Linked DNA regions of Homo sapiens: region 1 is linked to region 2. The links are contacts of gene promoters, found by promoter capture Hi-C in blood cells and fetal thymus (Javierre and others, 2016). All regions are on one chromosome and are shown on one strand. Each heading gives the region's core, a stretch centred on a gene start or on the middle of the fragment in contact. The rest is flanking DNA. Distances are from core to core; before and after follow the strand shown.

Region 1 (6,759 bases), core at 4,260-6,759, 190 kb after region 2:
GACCCTTCCTCTCAGAACCTTCCTTTTCCTTCTCATTTACCTGGAAAATCCCCACATACTTCATTACTGGGATCGTCAGTGCGGTCACACACCTAACTGTATGTGAGGATGACCACGGCAGCGGCTCCCTGAGGATGACCACGGCAGCGGCTCCCTGCTGTGCACAGGTGCTCATGGCGGGTACCCGCCGGCACTGACCATGTGCACAAGTGACCCTAACAGCAAACGGGTCCCCACAGCTTCCTGCCTGCTGGGTGCTTCTCAGTGCTTTTCATGCAGATTTAACTCATTTGATTGTCACATCAACCCTAGCAGGTAGGTGCTCTCCTGAGTCCATTCTGCAGATGGGGAAACCGAGGCACCACACAGCCACAGATGGCAGAGCTGGGGTTTGACCTCACAGGTCACGGGTCCAGCACCAGTGATTTTAACCTAATAGTCAATGCAACCCTTCATAGGGGCCCCGCTAACCTCACAAGGTGCAAACCTCATCCCACATCTTATCCACATATGACCACCAGACATTAGACATTCTAACTTCAGTACTTCGCTAGAATTCCAATGTAGGCAGCTCCATTTTTGTGTGTGTATCAGACAAGGGCAGTTAGCTTGTAAACATTCCAAAAGGCGTAACAGATGCTTCTTTCTCCACACCCAGAGTTATAAAATGAATGTGACCAGATACCTTCTGAGTTAATCCGAAGGGTAGAAGTGTGAAAATACTACTTACAGTGGTATCCTTCCAACTCTACGGATGGTGACGTGAGCTGACGTGGAAACGATAGTTCTGGTGAAAGAAGGGGCTATGTTGAGAGTGCTGCCTGCACGTCGTAGGCGGCGGAGGAAACGAAACACACGGAAAAGGCAGCCGAGCTTTCCATAATTAGGCTGCAGAACCAGCTTGGCTCCAGAAACTGTATTTGGTTAAATTATGAGTCAGTAGACCCTAGAGTCTGTTAAAATTATTCTCTACTCATGAAAATGTGTTTGTCAGACATAGCATGCCTTTCATGAGCAGCTGAAGCCTGGAGAACTTCTGATTGTGATGCTTATGCCTTGTTTTTTATTATGGCGAAAGCAGGTCTCCCGAGCCAGCTTCTCTCATATTTACTAGTCCCTAAAGTTCTAATTCTGGAGTTCATCCTCCAGTATCTCTCATATTTACTAGTCCCTGAAGGTCTAATTCTGGAGTGCACCCTCTGGTATTCAGCTGGTATTGATGATCAACAAATGTGATTTTCCCCAGAACGTCTGCAAAATGAGTGGAACCCCTAAAATCCATGCACTTTCCACACCCAAGGGGCCAGGCTTATGAAAAGCAGCAGAACAGCAGCATGCCAGGGGTGCAAAAGTCCAAGCAAACTCATCCAATGAGGTTGGCCACGCCGGGGGCTTCATGGACTCAGAGGCTGGCCATGCCAGGGGCTTTGCAGACTCAGAGGTTGGCCACGCCGGGGGCCCTTGCAGACCTGGAAGTCAGCCACGCAAGGGGCTTTGCAGACTCAGAGGTTAGCCATGCCCGGGTGCCTTTGCGGAACTGGTGCCCCTAGTTCTGAGGGGGAGTTTGCACCACTATAGAAGGTGGTCTTACCCTTAGGGAAGCCAAATGCAGGGAACTCCAAACGTAAGACTAAAGGAGGAGGAAGCCAGCAGGTGATGTGGAGCGGCAGGTGATGAAATGCCAGATAAGGAAGTGCCGGGCAATGAGGCACCAGGTGAGGAAGCGCCAGGATGGGAGCTGATGAAACAGTGGGGGATGGGGTCAGAGGGGGCAGTGGAAGAGTCAGGAGCGGCTTTGAAGACGGAGATCAGGAAGACGCTGGAAGGCGGCCACCATCCCAAGGCACAGGTGCAGCGTGAAAAGGGGCCAGTGACTCAGGAGGCGGTGGCCAACACAAGTCCCCATGAAACTCGGAACACACCTCGCAGGCATCCCCTTCTCAGGTGCTGCCTGGCATCACTCACTCCTGAGACCTTGCCTGTGGTCACTCAGCGCCAGCCCCTGGAGCCACGGGTCTCCCTGAAGGGCGCTCCAAGCAAACACAGGGCCGGCCCCCCAGTGTCCTCAGAGCAGGCCGGAACTGAAACCCCCGGGAGCTCATAAGTCTGCCCCTGGTTCCACAGGTGAAGCCGTGCTCGCGCCGTCTTCGCATGGAGGGCGTCAGACTCACCCAGCTGGGAGGCCTGAGCGCTGCGTTCTCAGGAGCTCTTGGGAAGCACTGAGCCGTGGCGTCAGATCACAGAAGGTCAGCAACACAGGACACCAAGGATGCTCAGAGGACTCACGGTTTCCTCACAAGCCTCCCTCCGCTCAAATCTCTAAAACCTGCTCCGGAATCCCTACTAACAAGATCCATAACAACATCCCATGAAAGCTAATTGTTTTTTAAATGTTTCTGTACTTTATAGTCACACCTATCTAATTAGAGACCTAAATTTCATGTTACAAAATAGTCAGCAACCCACACAGACGTACCTCATTTGGCTGCGTGGTTTTTCTCCTAAAGGGCCTCAGCACATTTAAAAAATGGACAAAGAAATCATGGCTCCTTGAGGAGACGCCAATCACTGAGGCCGAAGGCAGAGGCGTGAGAGGGGAGTGCTAAGGCGTCCGTCAGAAACCGCTGGGCTGGCTAATAAGCAGGTGGCATTTTGCCAGGGAGCCGCACCTACTCCACTGAGAGCTCTTCAATTCCACACAGAAATGCGTGCCCCTGCCTCCTGGGCGCGTCCCCCCAGAGCTTTTCCTCTGAGACCTGCAACTGGGGGGTGCCGAACAGCTGTGCCTGTGTGGTGGTCCTGGGAAGCCCCCTCATCCCCCAAAGCCCCTCCGTGCTGCTGTGTCCCTCAGCCCATTGCTCAGGCCACAGGCCCTTCCCAGGAAGAGCTTAAGGACAGGAGGCAGCACACAGCTTTTGCTCATCCATCCATCCATCCATTCATCCATCCATCCACCTTCCATCCATCCATCCACTCCTCCACTCCATGCATCCACTCATCTATGCATCCATCCCTCCCTCCCTCCATCCATCCACCCACCCATTCATCTATCCAGTCATCCAGTCATCCATCCATCCATACACCCATCCACCTACCCCTCCATCTACCTTACATACATATATCCACTCATCCATCTATCTACCAACTCATTCATCCATCCATCCATCCACTCATCCGTCCAAGCATCCACTCATCCATCCATCTACCCATTCATCATCCTCCATTTATCTATTTATCCATCCATCCACCCACACATCCATCCATCCACTCACACATCCATCCATCCATCATCATCCATCCATCCATCCACCCACACACCCACTCATCCACCCTTACATTCATCCACCCACCCATCCATCCACCCACTTATCCACTATCTACTAACTCATTTATCCATCCATCCATCCATCCATCCATCCATCCACCCACTTACACATCCATCCATCCATCATCATCCATCCATCCATCCATCCACCCACCCACACATCCATTCATCCACCCCTACATTCATCCACCCACCCATCCATCCACCCACCCACCCATCTACCCATTCATCCATCCATCCACTCATTTATCCATGCATTATCCATCTATCATCATCTGTCTATGACAAGAGTTAGTATTAGGTCAACTAATGGAAAAGGTGGGGCTAGATTTAAAGATTCTTCTACCACAGTAGTTCCCCAAGTTTGATTCCTGAAGAACTTCATCAAGAACTTAAGAAATGTCAATTATCAGACCCTACCCCAGACTTCCTGAATCAGAAACTCTGAGGGTGGGCCCAGCAGCCTGTGCTTTAACAAGCCCCCAAGGTGACGCATGTACATGCTGTAGTTGGAGGACCACTGTTCTGTTTCATCGAATGCTTAAATCAACTAGATCCATAGCATTGCTCCCTCGAATGTCTTCTACCTTTTCACCAATGACTAAAATTCCAAAGAGAAAACCAAAACAGACGAAAATGAGCCCTATCACATAGAAGGGGGGCCAGGGGGAAGTTGCCACTGGAAAGTGCCCCTGGCCTTGTTACTGAAGATCAGGTTCAGAAAAGTATATAAAATGTCAATTCTCAAGGTCAAAGGCTACAGATTCACAGACCATATGGACAGCACACATTATCCTCCTTTACATGCAGATTAGCCTAGCTAATGAAGGTTCTAGGTGACAGAAGAAATGCATAAATCTGAAATTAAAACACAGCAGCATGTCCTGGACAGCAGCAAAGATAAAATGCCTGTGGGTTGGGGGTGAATCTACAGAGGGTGAAGCTCTGCACAGCTGAATGAGGCAGCTGCTCTAAGGCCAGCCGCTGTACGCAATCCCTCAGCTGTGACCTAGCCCCGCCACTGCCCTGAGGACCTACACCAGCCGCCACATCAGTGTCCTGTTGCCATCAGCTTTTACCTGGCACGGATCCTAGCATGACCCCAGAAGGAGAAGCAGCTCCATGACCTCCCGCTGAAGAGTGTTTGGCTGCAGGTGGGGAACTCTCCTGAGGAAGTGCTTGGAATTTAAACCCGAGGTGGGGATCAGGTTTACCTTGACCTTCACCCCTACCAGAGAATGTGCACCACATACCCGTACACTCTGTGGTAGCATCATGTCAATACTGCATCATAAACCCCCTCATGATGGTTTTACAGCCTTCAACCTAATAACTTGCCTCCGCTGAGCAGTACCTCACACAGCGTGAGCAGAAAATGGGTTTGTGCTGAAGGAAGAGGCCAGTGTTAATGGGTGGTAAGTGGAGTATGATGCAGGGTCACCTCCCCTAACTAAACGCTACAGGGTGCTCATAACCGAGGATATCTGGTAAGCTGGACTTGAAAGTCCTGGTGAAGCATGCAATTATCGGTAATGCAGATGTGTGGGAGGACGCACATCTCACTGCCTGTTCCAGATGAGACGATGGCCCACACCGAGCGCCCGGCTCGCACGACATTCAGTGAGCAGACAGTGTCACTGCTGCTCTTCTGAGATAGCCTTTTTCCAATTAAAAATGCGCACATGTCTCTTGGAGCTCATGAAGAAACCCCAATCCCTAAAAACCTGGGGAATGACATCAGCCTCTGGAGCGGTTCCCACTCTGTGACTCTGACACCGAACGGCACGCAGAGGCATGCAGAGCAAGGGGGGCTTTCTCCTCCACCCCCACAGCCGATCGGAAGCCTCCCTGTGAACCTGGCATCCACGCAGCCCTTCACCATACTCAAACCCTGCAAACCCTGCACGGAAAAGCTCCACTCAAGCTTCAGAAAAAGAGCTGATTCTCTAAGAATCAGGGAGCAGACGGCATGAAAATGGTTTTGTTTTCTTTCGACCCACATACAATAAACCCAGCAGCTTTGATCATAAAAGCCCCCATTAAAAACATCTTGATTAGACCATCCCATACGATGGTGCTTATGCTGATTTAATCACTGGTTCACTCTCAGAATCCATCGGGGTGGGCAGAGAAAGAGAACCACACCCAAACCAAGCAACTGACATTTTAATCTCCCAGGCAAGTACTAGTTAGACAACTAGTAATGGCATATATGACATAACATATGGCAACATCAGGCAAAACACTTGGCAACTTACTTTTAATGATATATCATTATTTCCTCTTCATTTCAAGGAAAACGAGTTAAGGATGCCTCTCCCTTCTGCATAACACAGCCTGAGAACTCAGATGCGACCGCCTGAAAGCCACGGCCAGATGCAAGCTGTCAGCCCAGTCTCTGCTTACACCTAAAAGAATCGATCTGAACTACTCTTCAAAGCTTATTTGAAGTAATATTTCGATTAATACTGAAAATGAACGTCCAGTCCACTCTTTACCCATACCGTCTCAAACATCTGTCTTAGGTTTAAATTGCATTTAATGAAGAAAAGAACCACCTGATTAGTCCAGGTTTTTTCATCCTCAAAACGAGCTTCCAGGTAGCTTCACCATCCCTACCCCTGGCTCTGAAACCCCAAGCTCTGAAAGCCCTTGGCTCAGATCATTCTCCATTCGCAATGCATTCTCCATTGCGAGGGCTGCGGACAGGCAGGTTGATGGGCAGACTTCAGACACACAAATGGCTCCGCATGCAGACCCAGCAACCCTGAGAGAGCCAGTGTCACCAACGTGCAGTCATTTTGACTATCCCGGGCAGCATACGATCGCCGACAGCCTCTGAAAACACACCAGCTGCCAACCAGTGCCCCCCATGTCACAGCTACCACGGCTAGAAAGGAACACGAGGGCGGCTTACAAAAATCAGACGCATTTCCCCACATTTCAGCCCATGATGTCAAGCTTAAGCACAGATCACTGACGGCCAGCAGCTCCTCCTACCCGTGTGCTTGGAAACCGCATTTAATCTCTGCACCATTTCTTCCAAGGCCATCTCTTCAGTCCTCAGCCAAAACCTCATCCTCCGACACAACAAAAATGATCCTGGCAGATCCGCTTCCTCCGCACGGGGGGCGCCTGCGGGTGGGGCCGTGCGAGTGCGGAGGGGGCGCGGCGGAGGCGGGGAGGGGGCCACGGCAGCGCTTTCAGCCTCCAGCCGCCGCCTCCCTGCCCAGGATTGGTTCCGCGCCACCGGGAGGGGGGCGCGCGCTGCGCCGCGGGGGGCGGGGGGCGGCTCGGCGGAAGCGGAAGCGGCGCGCGCCCGCCCCGGTGTGTCACCACCGCGGGTCACCTGGGAGTCCTGTGAGTGCACCGCCGGGGTCACCTGGGAGCCCCGCGTGTCACCGCCGCGGTCGTCGGGGAGCCCCGGGGCTCAC
Region 2 (6,189 bases), core at 3,260-5,759:
GGCCCTTGGGGGAAGGGGACGGCCGGGGCCTCACCCAGCTCGCAGTTGCTGCCCTCATAGCCGGGGGAGCAGGTGCAGGTGTAGCCCCAGATGCTGTCCTGGCAAGAGCCGTTGTGGAGGCAGGGCTGGGAGATGCACGGGGAGCCGCCTGCAGGAGGAGGATGGGGGTTGGGGTGGTGGTGACAGGAACGGGGACCTGAGCAGGAGGAGGGTGGGGGTGGTGACAGGAATGGGGACCTGAGCAGGAGGAGGATGGAGTGGGGGGTGGCAGCAGGGACGGGGACCTGAGCACCTGAGCAGGAGGAGGGTGGGGTGACAGGAACAGGGACCAGAGCAGGAGGAGGACAGAGTGGAGCAGGGACGGGGACCTGAGCAGGAGGAGGATGGGGGGACGTGGCAGGGACGGGGACCTGAGCAGGAGGAGGATGTGGGGAGGTGGCAGGGACGGGGACCTGAGCAGGAGGAGGATGTGGGGAGGTGGCAGGGACGGGGACCTGAGCAGGAGGAGGATGTGAGGAGGTGGCAGGGACGGGGACCTGAGCAGGAGGAGGATGAGGGGACGTGGCAGGGACGGGGACCTGAGCAGGAGGAGGATGTGGGGAGGTGGCAGGGACGGGGACCTGAGCAGGAGGAGGATGTGGGGAGGTGGCAGGGACGGGGACCTGAGCAGGAGGAGGATGTGGGGAGGTGGCAGGGACGGGGACCTGAGCAGGAGGAGGATGTGGGGAGGTGGCAGGGACGGGGACCTGAGCAGGAGGAGGATGAGGGGACGTGGCAGGGACGGGGACCTGAGCAGGAGGAGGATGTGGGGAGGTGGCAGGGACGGGGACCTGAGCAGGAGGAGGATGTGGGGAGGTGGCAGGGACGGGGACCTGAGCAGGAGGAGGATGTGGGGAGGTGGCAGGGACGGGGACCTGAGCAGGAGGAGGATGGGGGGACGTGGCAGGGACGGGGACCTGAGCAGGAGGAGGATGTGGGGACGTGGCAGGGACGGGGACCTGAGCAGGAGGAGGATGTGGGGACGTGGCAGGGACGGGGACCTGAGCAGGAGGAGGATGGGGGGAGGTGGCAGGGACGAGGACCTGAGCAGGAGGAGGATGTGGGGACGTGGCAGGGACGGGGACCTGAGCAGGAGGAGGATGTGAGGAGGTGGCAGGGACGAGGACCTGAGCAGGAGGAGGATGTGGGGAGGTGGCAGGGACGGGGACCTGAGCAGGAGGAGGATGGGGGGAGGTGGCAGGGACGGGGACCTGAGCAGGAGGAGGATGTGGGGACGTGGCAGGGACGGGGACCTGAGCAGGAGGAGGATGGGGGGACGTGGCAGGGACGGGGACCTGAGCAGGAGGAGGATGTGAGGAGGTGGCAGGGACGGGGACCTGAGCAGGAGGAGGACGGGGGGGCAGGGGGTGGCAGGAATGGGGACTGAGCCTGCTCATGCTGCTCCCCATGCCATCGCCTGGCCCCCAGGACGCTCCCCGCTCCGGATGTAAGGCCTGGCTGCCAGTGCCTCCCACTCTGCTGGGTGCCCTTTCTTCGTCCGCACGCGGTCCCCTCTGTCCCGCCCCATCAGCCCTTCTCCGGCCTTCCCTGCCTCTCCCGCTTCCTTCTGTGCCCAGTTGTCCCCGTGCTTGTCTGGTGGTGGCTGCAGCTCTTTGCTTACTCATTCCCAGGTGGGTCCTTACCCTGGCCTCCCCCAGCCCCGTGGGTCTCCATCTGTGTTACTTCTGTCCCATGCTCTTCTGCAGTTGCCCACCTAGAGCTCCTCCCTTGGGAGGAGTCTCCTAACCAAAGTCTCCATCGGGGCCATGACTTTCCAAAATTTGAGACGAGTTCTGACCCTGCTGCAGCATGAGGCTTCCCAGGAGCCCAGGAGCCAGGCGGCTGGAGGAGCTGCTCTGGGGGGGCCCTCCTGGCCTGTGGCCCATGTCCCAGAGTGCCAAGAAACTACCCAGACACTGGGCAAGACAAACCAGGCACTGCCTGTGGCCCTGGTGGCAGAGCCCGGGGGCTTCCTGACCTGGTCCTTGGGGAGAGTCGGAGCTGCCCTTCCCTGGAGAGACACCGTGGGTCCTGGAGCCAGAGGCTTGGCATCCGCTGAGCTGGGGTCGTGAAGCGTCCTAAGCCCACCCACGCACCTCATCCCGAGGAATTAATACTTCTGAGGAGACGAAGGAAACCACTTACCCTTATATCGTCTCCAGAATTCATCCTTTAGAGTTAAAACATAAAAATGTTACAAATGGGATATTTGTTTTTCTATATTCTTTCCTGTAGATGAACTTGAAGGTAAGAAAATGTTGATTTTATTCACTTAATAGGACAATAGTGGTTGAAACAATGCACAATTTTCCTGTTTTACAGCCTATTTGTTTATGTTAAATGTATAGTAACTAAATGTATCTGTAAGATATATTACTCAACATGTGCTTACCACCACCTATTTGAGGAAGGCCAGAGTCTATGACATGGCACAAACCCACCACCCACAGCCCCTAACGTGGCCCTTCCCTTCTAGGGCCAATCTCCACGCCACCCTCCACAAAAGCACATGATATAGAAGTCACATCACCTTTTCGCTTTTTATAAACCGAGTTGAATTTTAAAGATATATACCTCTGTAGGGAGTGGGGACACTTAGTTTGGGGTAGGAGTATCTAAAATTAGGAGAATTATTCAGACTTGAAGCCTAGAAAGAAAATGTATGCTGGGTGTCTGATCAGTGTGTGGGCCTTGCCTGACCTGAAGAAATGAGTCCAGTGGGCTCTGAGCTGACTTCCAGCCCCACTCACTGCTGTAGGGAAAGGTGGATTAAGTCGATTCTCTAAATTGTTTCCTCATCTGTAAAACTGGGATTGTGTCAACCTCATCGGTAAGTAAATAGGCTAATTAATTAAGCTTAATCTCTGAGAAATGATGCTCCCTGGGCCAGCAGAAGTCTAAATAATGAGGAGGCCTGTGGTTTGTGGTGGGGGTACATACAGTGACTACTTCATTTTCAAACACTTCTCTTGCTTCTTCATAGACACAGATTTCTTCATAACATTCTTTTTCCAAGTTTCCCTCGAAGAGTTCTTCCAGAAGATAGGAGCCCGCACGCTTCCACCTCACCAGAACGTCGTTTGCTTTGGAGGCCGGGAGAAATACTACAGACGAGACAAGAAGGCAGGTGACTGGGAGCACCGAGGGCCCTGCTTTCCAGAGCTGCCTGGCTTCCTCCCCGGCCGGCCGCCAGCCCCAGCCCCGTCCGTCTCCACAGGCTCTCAGCCTGCGAGGGCCTCAGGGCCACCCCGCTACTCCCTCCCCCGAGGTAGGCAAGCACTTCATCCTCTGGGCGAATGGATCAGCCCCAGGATCAGTGCGGATACACTAAGGTTCTGCAGAGAGGCCACGGGCCTCAGTCAGGAAAGTGGAGGAGGGAGGGCTCCAACTGGGTTTTGGGTCTGAGTGCGAAGGAAGGCTGAGCTGGGGTCAAAGGTCCCCGTACTGAGAACTGGGGACCAAGAGCCATCAGCTCCTGTGCTGCCTCTGTGCGCAGCATTTAACATCTTGATAAAACACATAAAGAAGAAACTTATACATTGCAGCAGGCTCTGCGATTTCCAGGAGGAGAAGGCAAATGAGTTGACCCGCGGCAGTGGTCTCTGGAGCCTCTTCCCACCTGAGGGTCCCAAAGCATGTTCTCTCCCTCTCCGGGAGGGTCAAAGCCCAGGCCCTTCCCATCCTCCCTCCTTTTCTCTCGGTGCTGAGGGTTACAGCAGGGGGGGCTCAGCTAAGTCCGGCTACGGTAAGTGCTGGGCAGGGCAGGGCGGGGGGATCACCCTCTCAGGGTGGGAGACCATGGGGCCAGCGGGAGACCATGGGGCCAGCGGGGATGCTGGGTGTTTTGACTTGCAGCTTTCCTGGACGCCTGTGCAGGCAGAGTCAGAATGGAGTCCATGTCGTTCCTTCAGTGAAGTGGCTGGTGGTAGAAGGGTGGCAGGCAGGCAGGGTGGCTGCTCCCTGGCTATGTCTCCTGACTCAAGACTGGGCATTCCTGGCTGGCCTGGCCAAGGCTCTCTCTGCCCACATTGCAGTCTGGGCTCAGCCTGCCCCACCCCCTCCCCTCGTCCAATGCCCAACCCAGGCCTCCCCCCACTCCTCCCCCTTTCCCCCTCCCCTCTCCCCGGCCTTTCCCGGCTGAATCCCCTGCACACAGGCTTCTTTCCATTTGGGCATCTCTTGGGAGGACCCCAAGTGACACTATCATGTCCCAAATACTTGTCACCAAATGATAAAGATCCAAACAGCTTTTTCAGGGGAATTAAGACTAGTCTGGGCACTCAGGGCTCCTCTGGCTCCTGGAAAAAGCCTCATCTACAAATCCACCATGGACCGAGTCAAGAAAGACACAGCACAGGCACAACAGACAGGTAAGCCAGATGCCTACCTGAGGGCTCCACACGATGGAGGGCGAGGACCAGGACCAGGCCCTGGAGCAGTGGGACGCAGCCTGCCATTCCCACCCGGAGCGCTGGGACAGGGCTACAAACACAGCCAAAGTCCAGGCTGGGGGAGGTGCCGGCAGCAGGAGCCTCGGGGCACGACCTGTGCAGCTGTGTGCTTCCCTCCTGACGTTTTCTGTTTGAGGCCAGGCAGAGAAATGAACGGTGAAGGCTCAGAGGACCCTGGGAGATATTTAGGGAGACAGAGAACAGAAGGTAAAGGCAGCAGGTGCAAGGTGGAAGGTGGCACCCATGCCCGTGTGTGGTCAATGGAGGTGAGATAGGCCCTGGGGACACAGCACTGGGCGGGACAGACAAAGTCACATGCAGCTTACGTTCTAGGTGTGTGTGGAATACACAGAAAAGAACGAGGGAAAGAGACAGGAGGGAGTGAGGGAGGGAAAGCAGGAGGATGGAAAGAAGGAAGGGGAGAAAAGGAAGGGAGGGAGGGAGGAGGGAGAAAGCGGGGAAGGGCCAAATAGTGTCTGTCACTACAGCTCAGCACCATTGTAGCAGAGGCAGCATAGACAATCATGAATGAACACTTGGCTGTGTGCCAATAAAGCTTTATTTATAAGAGCTATTAAGGGGCCAGATTTGGCCCCAGGGTTGTCGTTTGCTGCTTTCAGATGTAGGCCCTGTGTATTAGTCCCTTCTTACACTGTTATGAAGAAATAGCCAAGACTGGGTAATTTAAGAAAAGAGGTTTAGTTGACTCCCAGTTCCACATGGCTGGGGAGGCCTCAGGAAACTTATAATTATGGCAGAAGGCACCTCTTCACAGGGTGGCAGCAGAGAGAATGACTGAAGCAGGGGAAATGCCAGATCCTTATAAAACCATCAAATCTCTTGAGACTCACTCACTATCCCAAGAATAGCATGGTGGAAACCACCCCCATGATTCAATTACCTCCCACCGGGTCCCTCCCAGGACACGTGGGGACTATGGGGATTACAATTCAAGATAAGATTTCGGTGGGGACACAGCCAAACCATATCAGCCCTTGAAGCCTGAGGTAAGAACCTGGTGTTTCATTTTCACTGTGTTGGGAAGATATTGGAGGGAACAGGAATTGACATGGAAAGATTTGTGCTCTGAAGGGATCACTGGGCTGCTGTGTGGAGAACAGAACATTCCAGAGAAGTCAAAAGGGAGGCTGCCGGCTAGTCCAGGAGGGGGTGAGGGTGCAGCCATGCAGCAGGAAGCACGTTTGCAGTCTGGATGCTTCAGGAAGGGAAAGCTGATGGGATTCATGATGAATTGTGTCGGGCAGCACGGCTCCAAGGTTTGGGCTGAGCGATTGGGAGGATGGCAGTGCGTGTGCTGAGACGGCCAAGCTCCAGGAGGGCAGAGGGAAGCGAGGTTTGGCAAATTTGAGGTGTCTGTGGGATGTCCAGGTGGAGACAGGAGTGGGCATCCGAGAAGCTGGGACTCACAGTGGAGATTCAGGTGGTAACAGATGAAATGACAGCATTGTCAGCATATAGATATTGTTCGATTGAATGACACTCAAAGGTGGCAAAACTCAATGAAAGGATTCTAAATACAATTTTGTTAAAGTGGGAACAGAAGAAAACTAAGAAGCTGACACCCTTGATTAAGAGGGCATGCCCGCAAATACACTGAAGTTGTGAAGTTTGCTTTAAAAAGCTGGGAAAAGAAAATAAAGTTTATCTTTAGTGAGTGAGTTAAAATAATTTGAAAGCC

Evidence for each region. Contacts are between HindIII fragments. The CHiCAGO score rates a contact against its expected background, and 5 or more counts as called.
Region 1: a fragment that was not itself captured here is called in contact with the fragment with the promoter of PROZ in region 2 in 2 of 17 cell types (total CD8 T cells and naive CD8 T cells); the score reaches 6.2 in total CD8 T cells.

The regions. Positions count from the first base shown.
Region 1 is chr13:112,969,025-112,975,783 of GRCh38, reverse strand. It overlaps MCF2L (MCF.2 cell line derived transforming sequence like), which reads right to left and starts at 6,570. Exons shown (of 30, transcript NM_001112732.3): 1 at 6,326-6,570. The coding sequence starts at 6,404. RefSeq lists a silencer at 6,635-6,694. The HindIII fragment of the contact is 516 bases long and covers 5,252-5,767 here.
Region 2 is chr13:113,156,968-113,163,156 of GRCh38, reverse strand. PROZ (protein Z, vitamin K dependent plasma glycoprotein) reads right to left here and starts at 4,509. Exons shown (of 8, transcript NM_003891.3): 1 at 4,427-4,509; 2 at 2,980-3,143; 3 at 2,185-2,209; 4 at 35-148. The coding sequence starts at 4,496. RefSeq lists enhancers at 3,295-3,872, 4,449-5,026. The HindIII fragment of the contact is 2,151 bases long and covers 2,898-5,048 here.